Regions from separate parts of the Homo sapiens genome. Here region 1 is linked to region 2. Evidence: promoter capture Hi-C in human tissues and cell types (Jung and others, 2019). All regions are on one chromosome and are shown on one strand. Each heading gives the region's core, a stretch centred on a gene start or on the middle of the fragment in contact. The rest is flanking DNA. Distances are from core to core; before and after follow the strand shown. Region 1 overlaps TRAF3 (TNF receptor associated factor 3). Region 2 holds the start of ANKRD9 (ankyrin repeat domain 9).

Region 1 (3,380 bases), core at 850-3,349, 280 kb before region 2:
GGTTGCAGTGAGCCAAGATCACACCACTGCACTCCAGCCTGGGTGACTGGGAGACTCCATCTCAAAAAAAAAAAAAAGAAAAAGGAAAGGAAAACCATTTTCTGCTATGGAAAAAAAAAAAAAGCAAGGCAAGTGACCACAGCAACAGCATGGGCTGTTTAATTAGGGTGTTCAGAAGACCCCTTTGAAGAGGTAAAATGTGAACAGAGGCCTGAATAAATCGAAGTGTTGTTGTTGTTTTTGTTGTTGTTTGAGACAGTCTCACTGTCACCCAGGCTGCAGTGCAGTAGCGCCATCTCGGCTCACTGCAACCTCCACCTCCCGAATTCAAGCGATTCTCCTGCCTCAGCCTCCCAGGTTGCTGGGACTACAGGCATGTGCCACCACACCCAGCTAATTTTTTTTTTTTTTTTTTGGTTTAGTAGAGATGGGGTTTTACCATGTTGGCCAGGCTGGTCTCGAACTCCTGACCTCAAGTGATTCGCCCACCTCAGCCACCCAAAGTGTTGGGATTACAGGCGTGAGCCACCACGCCCAGCCCAAATTGAAGAATATTATTATTGCTAAATAACAGAAAAAAAAGTGCTAAAATACGAATTTAAATATATAAAAATTCATATGTTAAAATTGCTTTTTAAAAAGGGAGATATCTATAGATGTTCCTTTTGTGCAAATATACTGTGATTTCAGTTTCTAGACATTTTACCCTTTTTATAAATAATTTATTTGCAGTCCAATAATGTCCTTCTACTCCCACCGGTATTTCTTCCAGGGACAGGCCATACTTCCAAGACAGCCTGTCATCCACATTGCTAATAAGTCATTCCCTTTATCAAACCACTCAGGAAAGGAAAGGGGAAGAGAAATGATCACTTCTGAAATATTAGGTTCTTATATTCTCTCACATGCTCTGATTTTTCTTGTTCTTGTTTTGAGACAGGATCTCACTGAGTCACCCAGGCTAAAGTGCGGAAGTATGGTGACACAGTAACACCTCACTGTAGCCTCGACCTCCTGGGCTCAAGCACTCCTCCCGCATCAGCCTCCTGAGTAGTTAGATGGGACTACAGGAGCACGCCACCAGACCCAGCTAATTTTTAAATTTTTTGTAGAGACAAGGTCTTATAACACTATGTTGCCCAGGTTGGTTGAGAACTCCTGGATTCAAGCGATCCCCCCGCCTCATCCTCTCAAAGTGCTGGGACTATAGGTATGAGCCACTGCACCTGGCACAGGCTCGTTTTTTTTTTAGACAGTTTTACTCTTGTTGCCCAGGGTGGAGTGCAATGGCACGATCTTGGCTCACTGCAACCTCTGCCTCCCGGGTTCAAGCAATTATCCTGCTTCAACATCCCAAGTAGCTGGAATTACAGGCATGTGCCACCACGCCCGGCTAATTTTGTATTTTTAGGTGAGATGGGTTTTCACTATGCTGTTCAGGCTGGTCTCGAACTCATGACCTCAGGTGATCCACCCACCTCGGCTTCCCAATGTGCTGGGATTACAAGCATGAACCTCCGCACCCAGCCCAGGCTCACTTTTAAGTCTCACAATTACTTTTTTATTATGGTAAATTACACATAAAATTTATCATTGTAATCATTTTAAGTGTATAGTCCAGTGGTATTAAATACATTCATAATGTTGTGCGACCATCACCACCATCCATCTCCAGAGGGAGAATTTAGGTTTCAGAGGCTTTTCCACGTGACTGTGAACTCTACAGTTACCTTTGCATAGATGAGAAAACTGAGGCTTAGAAAGGAAGAGTAATTTAACAGCATAGTTAGCTGAAGGACAGACCAGAATTCAAAGCAGGTCTAATTCCTTCCATACATAAACTGATCTCCTTTTTACTGTGTACATCATAGACCAGACTGCAGAAATAGAAAGAATGAAGTGAGCCAACCCTTGAGAAGCTTGTCGTCTCAACCCTAGAGACCTATCCCAGATGCACAGAAATATCCTTCAACCTGGAGAAGGCAGGGAAGGCTCTCACGCCACCACCTCCACCCAACAAGGGCCAACTTAGGTCTAAGAACAAAGAAATCTACCCTCTGTCATCCCAAGGACCTGACCTAGTGGCCTCAGTGTCTGGCTGCATTCCGTTATTCACAGCCCTTCCTGGAGCAGGTACAAATGGCCATGAAACAAGCCCCTACATCTCTGCTCAGCCACCACTGACCCCTCCTGGTTGCACGTTCAAAACCTTGACAGTGGTTCTCACAGAAGAGCTAAAGTATTCTCCAAAATAGCCAAACATCATTTCCCTGCTAACAGTGGTAAGGGCTTCCATGCCTTTAACTCATATTTCCACAGGCAATCTGCAGTTATAATTAAATTCAAGATGAATAGGTACTAGCCTGCAACCATTATGCTCTCTGCAGAGTGACCAGGCCTTGGGGACTTGTTCATCACTAACAAGCTAATGTTTGTAAAACCCTGTAAGACACAATGACTAAATACTATCATTATTACTAGACTACCAGTTTAAATGTAAATTAAGAGAGAAAGGAGAAAGAAAACACATTAGCAAATCAGGTTAGGGACTGTTACTCAGCAAGCTGTAAGAAGCATCTGAGCCACTGCGTAAAGAACCTCCCATCCAAATGTGTCAAAGGAGAGTGAATCCGAGGAGGCTGCTGTAAGAAAGGAACTTACGCCAGAGATGGAACGGAGTGCGGCCTAGAGTATCAGCCATATAGGCAAAACAGATGTTGGATGGAAGGGAAAGGCTGCATGAAAAATACACAATTTGTTTAAAAAGCACTCTACAGCAGCAAAACTAAGTCTACTCTGAAAGCAAAACTAAGAAGTTTAGAATCTGAAGAAAATCTAAAACTGCACTGTAATTCAGCTGTGGTGAAACCATGAACTCTGGGGTCCAACAGGCCTGTTGCTCTTCCTTTTCCTCATCTGCAAAATGGGGAGAATTCCTGCCTCAGAAGTTAGGCTGTCACAAAGGCAGCACCCAGAAGTGGCCGGGTGCCTTTTCCTGTACCCTCTCCCCTGAAGGACAGCCACAGGAGAACCCCTTCCGACTCACGGGCCCTCTGCCAGGCGACTCCCTGCCAGCCCAGGCTTCCCCACTCCTGCTGCTAGCTTCCCTAAGAGTTACCTCCTTGGGAAACGCCTCCTCCTAACCCAGGTTGAAACTGCACAGCGCCTCCACAATGCACCAGAGCCTCTGTTCCACTGTTGTGGCACCTACTACATGGTGCCATAATGAAATTATTCTTCTGGCTCATTCATCACATGGAAGCTCCTTGAAAACAGAGATCAGACGGCATCCTATCTGACTTTTTAGCTTTAGCAACGAGCATAGCCCCTAGCACTTAGAAAGTTCTCAAAGAAAGTGTGGGTGATTCAATAATTCTCAA
Region 2 (3,679 bases), core at 677-3,176:
CGGCTGTATCTCAACTCCAGCCTTCGAAGAGGGCAAGAGAGCAGGGGAGCCTTGAGCCACAGACAGCCCACATGGGCACCATCTCCCCAAGATGTCCCCCAGGGTTTGGGCTCCCAAAGGCCGATTGTTGACTCCAGGACCTTCACTCACTTTGCTCTCCCCACCATCGTACTCAGAGGCATCCAGAACCGGCAGATGGGAGAAGCCCTAGGGAGATAGGCCTAGATACAGGAGGAGACATGTGGAGCTGAGGCAAAGGCGGGTGCGGATGCCAGGCCCAGTGCCCTCTATACCCCTACTCCTGCTGACAACCTGGCTGCTGTAAGCTTGGCAGTTGCCATGGACTCCCTGGGAGAGATGGCGTGGCCTGGAACGTCCCCCGCCCTGAGGTGGGGCAGGGCTGGTGGGGTCTGGTCATCCCCCTGGTGGGTCCATGCATGGCAGCCTGGGCAGGATACATGTGAGTGCCTACCTGGGCTGGGGTGGCCTGACCCTCTCTGGGCCTCACAGCTTTGTCTGCCTCATGGTACTGTCCACCTGGCCTCTCAGGACTGCTCTGTGGCGTGTGTGCTTAAGGGATTGAGCTCGTTGGGCTGGGGACAGAGGCCTGCCTAGGTCTGTTGAGAGGGCCCAGGTAAGACTTCCACCCAGACTGACTGGCTGGGGCACACAGAGAAGCCAGGACAGGGCTGATTGTGTGTGCAGGGGCGTGCCCTCTGGACGAGGCCCCTCCCACCGGGGCGAGGCAGAGGCCTTGCTTGGTTGGAGCGGAGTGGGGGAGTGGGAGGGTCTCCCTGGTGAGATAGTACTGGAAGGGCAGGGACAGCATTCTAGGGAAGGAACCAGAAAGAGCCCCTGCATGGAATGTGGGGATTTCACCATGAGACCCCGGCTGCCTGGCCTCTGAGAACGTGTGTGGGGGGATTCCAGGTGGAAGGTCGTGTCTGGGAGGATGGGTGGGGGGTTGAGCAGTCATTGCCCCTCTCCAGATCTGCGTCCACATCTGTAAAATGGGCCTAGAATTCCCAGCCGCTGGGGGCGAGTGAGGCCATAAATTAGTTGAGATGGACCCAGGCTCCTAAGCCCCCTAGGTCATGACCCCAAACCTTGGAACCCCCGACGGAGACGGTGGGGGTGGCCGAGGCCCAATCGAATCTATCCCGCCCAGATGTGGGAAGAACCGCAGGGCAAACCCCCGGCTTCCCTCCTGGCCGCTCCTCTCTTTGAGGCCACCTCTCTGAGCCCTGATTTGCTGGCGGGTGAACTGGGGATCATCGTGTCCACTGTGGCTGGTGGTCGTGAAACGAAGTGGAAACATGAGTGTTGAGGCCGAGATGGGCGCAGTGCGCGCTCCTAAACAGCTGTCCCCATCCGTCCGCCCCTCCCTCCCTTGCGCGGGTCAGCTGGAGCGGGGGCGCGCCAGGCACGACCCTGGCCGGGCAGAAGGCGGTGGAGCCCTTAGGGGTCGCGGCTCCTACCCCCGGCCCTCCCATGTGCAGATGGGGTAGCAGCCTGGAGGTTTTTCCCAAGGTCACGTAAGGTCAAAGAAAAGGGGAGCTGGACGCGACGAGGAAAGTCACGCACGGCGGAGGGCGGGCCACCTACGCGCGCGCCCGAGTTCGCAGAGCAGCGGCGCCCTCCCGGGCTAGGGCAGCTCGGAGCTCGGAGCCTTTCTTCGCCCGCAGCTCGGGTTCCGGGAGCCCCGCCCCCGCCCATCAACGCCCCGCCCCTTTCGCCACGGCCCCGCCCCTCCTCTCCGTTCTCCCCGCCGGCGCTCCCTCAAGTTTCTCCGAAGTTTTCCGCGGGTCCAGCGGTGCGCCCCGCCCGCCGGCCAGTGACGTAACAATGGTGCAGCGCGGCGGCCAATGGGTGGTGGCGGGGGCCGGCGGCGCGGGCCAATGGCGGCGGCGGACGGTCCCGCTGTCCTGCCTGGCCGGGGCCGCACTGCGCCGCCCGCCGCCCGCCGCCCGCCGCCCGCCGCCGGCGACGGCACCGCCGCCCTGCGATCCGGCCGCGGCGGCTCAGAGCGCGGCTGCGGCGGGCGCGGGCGGCGGTGGCTCCCTCCCGTGCGTCCGTCGTGGGACCTTTGCCCGCTCGCCCGCGGGGGACAGCGCGCGCTCCGGTCCGCGGCAGGGGCGGGGACGCCCGGCCTGTGGCCCCCGCGCCCCCCATGGTGAGTCCCCGTCCCCCGCGCCGCGCCCGCGGCCGCCGCCCCCTCCTCCTCCGGCACACGCGCACGCAGGTGCAGCCCTCGCTGCGCCGGCCACCTGCGCGCGGACGCCCCGCTCGGCCCCGCGACCCTCCGCCGCCCGACGTCTGGCCGTGCAGGCCGGGAGGGGACGGGTAGGAGGTGGCGGGTGGCCCCGGGCGCGGCGCTGCCTTCGATGGCCCAACCCCCTTATTCACGAGCCGCGGCCGTGACTCTGCCCGGTGACGTGGGGAGGCCGAACTTTACGTAACCCGCCCGGCGCCCCACGCGTGCCGGCACAGGGCATATCTGGGGCCCGGAGGCCCAGGCTTGGGGAAGGGGCTCCAGTCACGGTGTTGCCCACGGGCCACAGCCTACCCGCACCGCGCCGCTCTCTTTAACTCAGTTACTGCCAGTGATAGTGACCCAGTCAGTGTGTGTGGACGCGGCCTGCCTTCTGTCCCAGGCCCCTTGTGACCAAGGGCTTACCCTTGAAAGAAGGCAGTAGGGAGGTTGGGACGGAGCCAGAGGTCAGACGCCTAGGCTCAGGTCGGGGCTGGGGACTCAGAGGGCAGGGTCAGGGCCTAAGCTCGATTGCCTGTGGGTTGGGGGTCCCCACCAATTCTGGAATGAGCCCAAACTGAGACGCAGGGGACCTGAGTTCTAGGCCTGGCTCTGCCGTGGCTTGCTGACCTTGGAGAATTGGAGAAGCTTGTGCCCTGCTGGAAAGTGGGATGGCAGTACCCGCTTCATCTAGTAGTCGGGGAGATCAAGAGAGGTATGGGACCTGAAGAGGATGGCAGACTGTGCAGTGCGGTGCACACCGGTCTCCAGGTTGTTTTCACCCTCCTATCTCCTCCCAGGAGCTAACGTGTAAGCAAACATGTTTGGATAGAGGGCTGGTGCCACGCCCCAGGCTCACCCCGCCCGCACAGCCGTCGTCCACCCCTCCCCTTTCTTACAGATAAAGCTGAGGCTCGGCCAGGGACTGTGATATACCCACATCCCCGGAACTAGGTGATCGCGGTGCAGGAACCAGGTAGGTCTGAGTCTGGATCATGCCTCTGAACAGCCCAGGAAGAGGCTCCAGGGGCCTCCAAGTGGTCTGGGGTCGGAGATCAGGGTCAGGGTTGCGCTTGGGCTGGAGAGTGGATTTGCCTCAGCTTGAGATGTGGGCCCAAGCTTTCTCATCCCCTCCCTGGCCTTTTCTTTATTTGGGGTCGTATGAACCTGGCTTAGGTGGGAACAGAAGCTCTTCCAGTGGGTCCCTGGGTTGGAGAGGGGAGGGGAGATTTGAGGGCATGGGCAGCAAGGGCATTTCCAGCAGAGGTGCCAGAGAGCAAGTCAGTTTCAAGGAGGGAGAACAGGTACAGCTAGATCAAGGATGGAGGCGGTGGTTCTGGGCGTCGGAGAGATGGAGCTGTAGGGTGACTGGAAGGGCCTGGCCGAGGCTGGAGGTAGGTACAGGCCTGGTGGGCCAGGACCGGAGGG

What was found. The method cuts DNA at HindIII sites, captures the fragments that hold promoters and counts their contacts. A contact is called where the count stands out against the background at its distance.
Region 1: a fragment that was not itself captured here is called in contact with the fragment with the promoter of ANKRD9 in region 2 in 1 of the 25 tissues and cell types used here (dorsolateral prefrontal cortex).

What each region holds. Positions count from the first base shown.
Region 1 is chr14:102,784,555-102,787,934 of GRCh38, reverse strand. The region is part of intron 1 of TRAF3 (TNF receptor associated factor 3); the gene reads right to left. Among named protein-coding and RNA genes, the nearest start is that of TRAF3, 8.8 kb to the right of the region's middle. The HindIII fragment of the contact is 5,113 bases long and covers 1-3,380 here.
Region 2 is chr14:102,508,023-102,511,701 of GRCh38, reverse strand. It overlaps ANKRD9 (ankyrin repeat domain 9), which reads left to right and starts at 1,926. Exons shown (of 4, transcript NM_152326.4): 1 at 1,926-2,173; 2 at 2,856-3,061; 3 at 3,153-3,227. It overlaps LOC105370679 (a long non-coding RNA gene), which reads right to left and starts at 1,659. Exons shown (of 4, transcript XR_007064352.1): 1 at 151-1,659. RefSeq lists enhancers at 1-562, 563-1,208, 1,209-1,852 and silencers at 1,333-1,382, 1,543-1,982, 2,977-3,138. The HindIII fragment of the contact is 3,197 bases long and covers 1-3,135 here.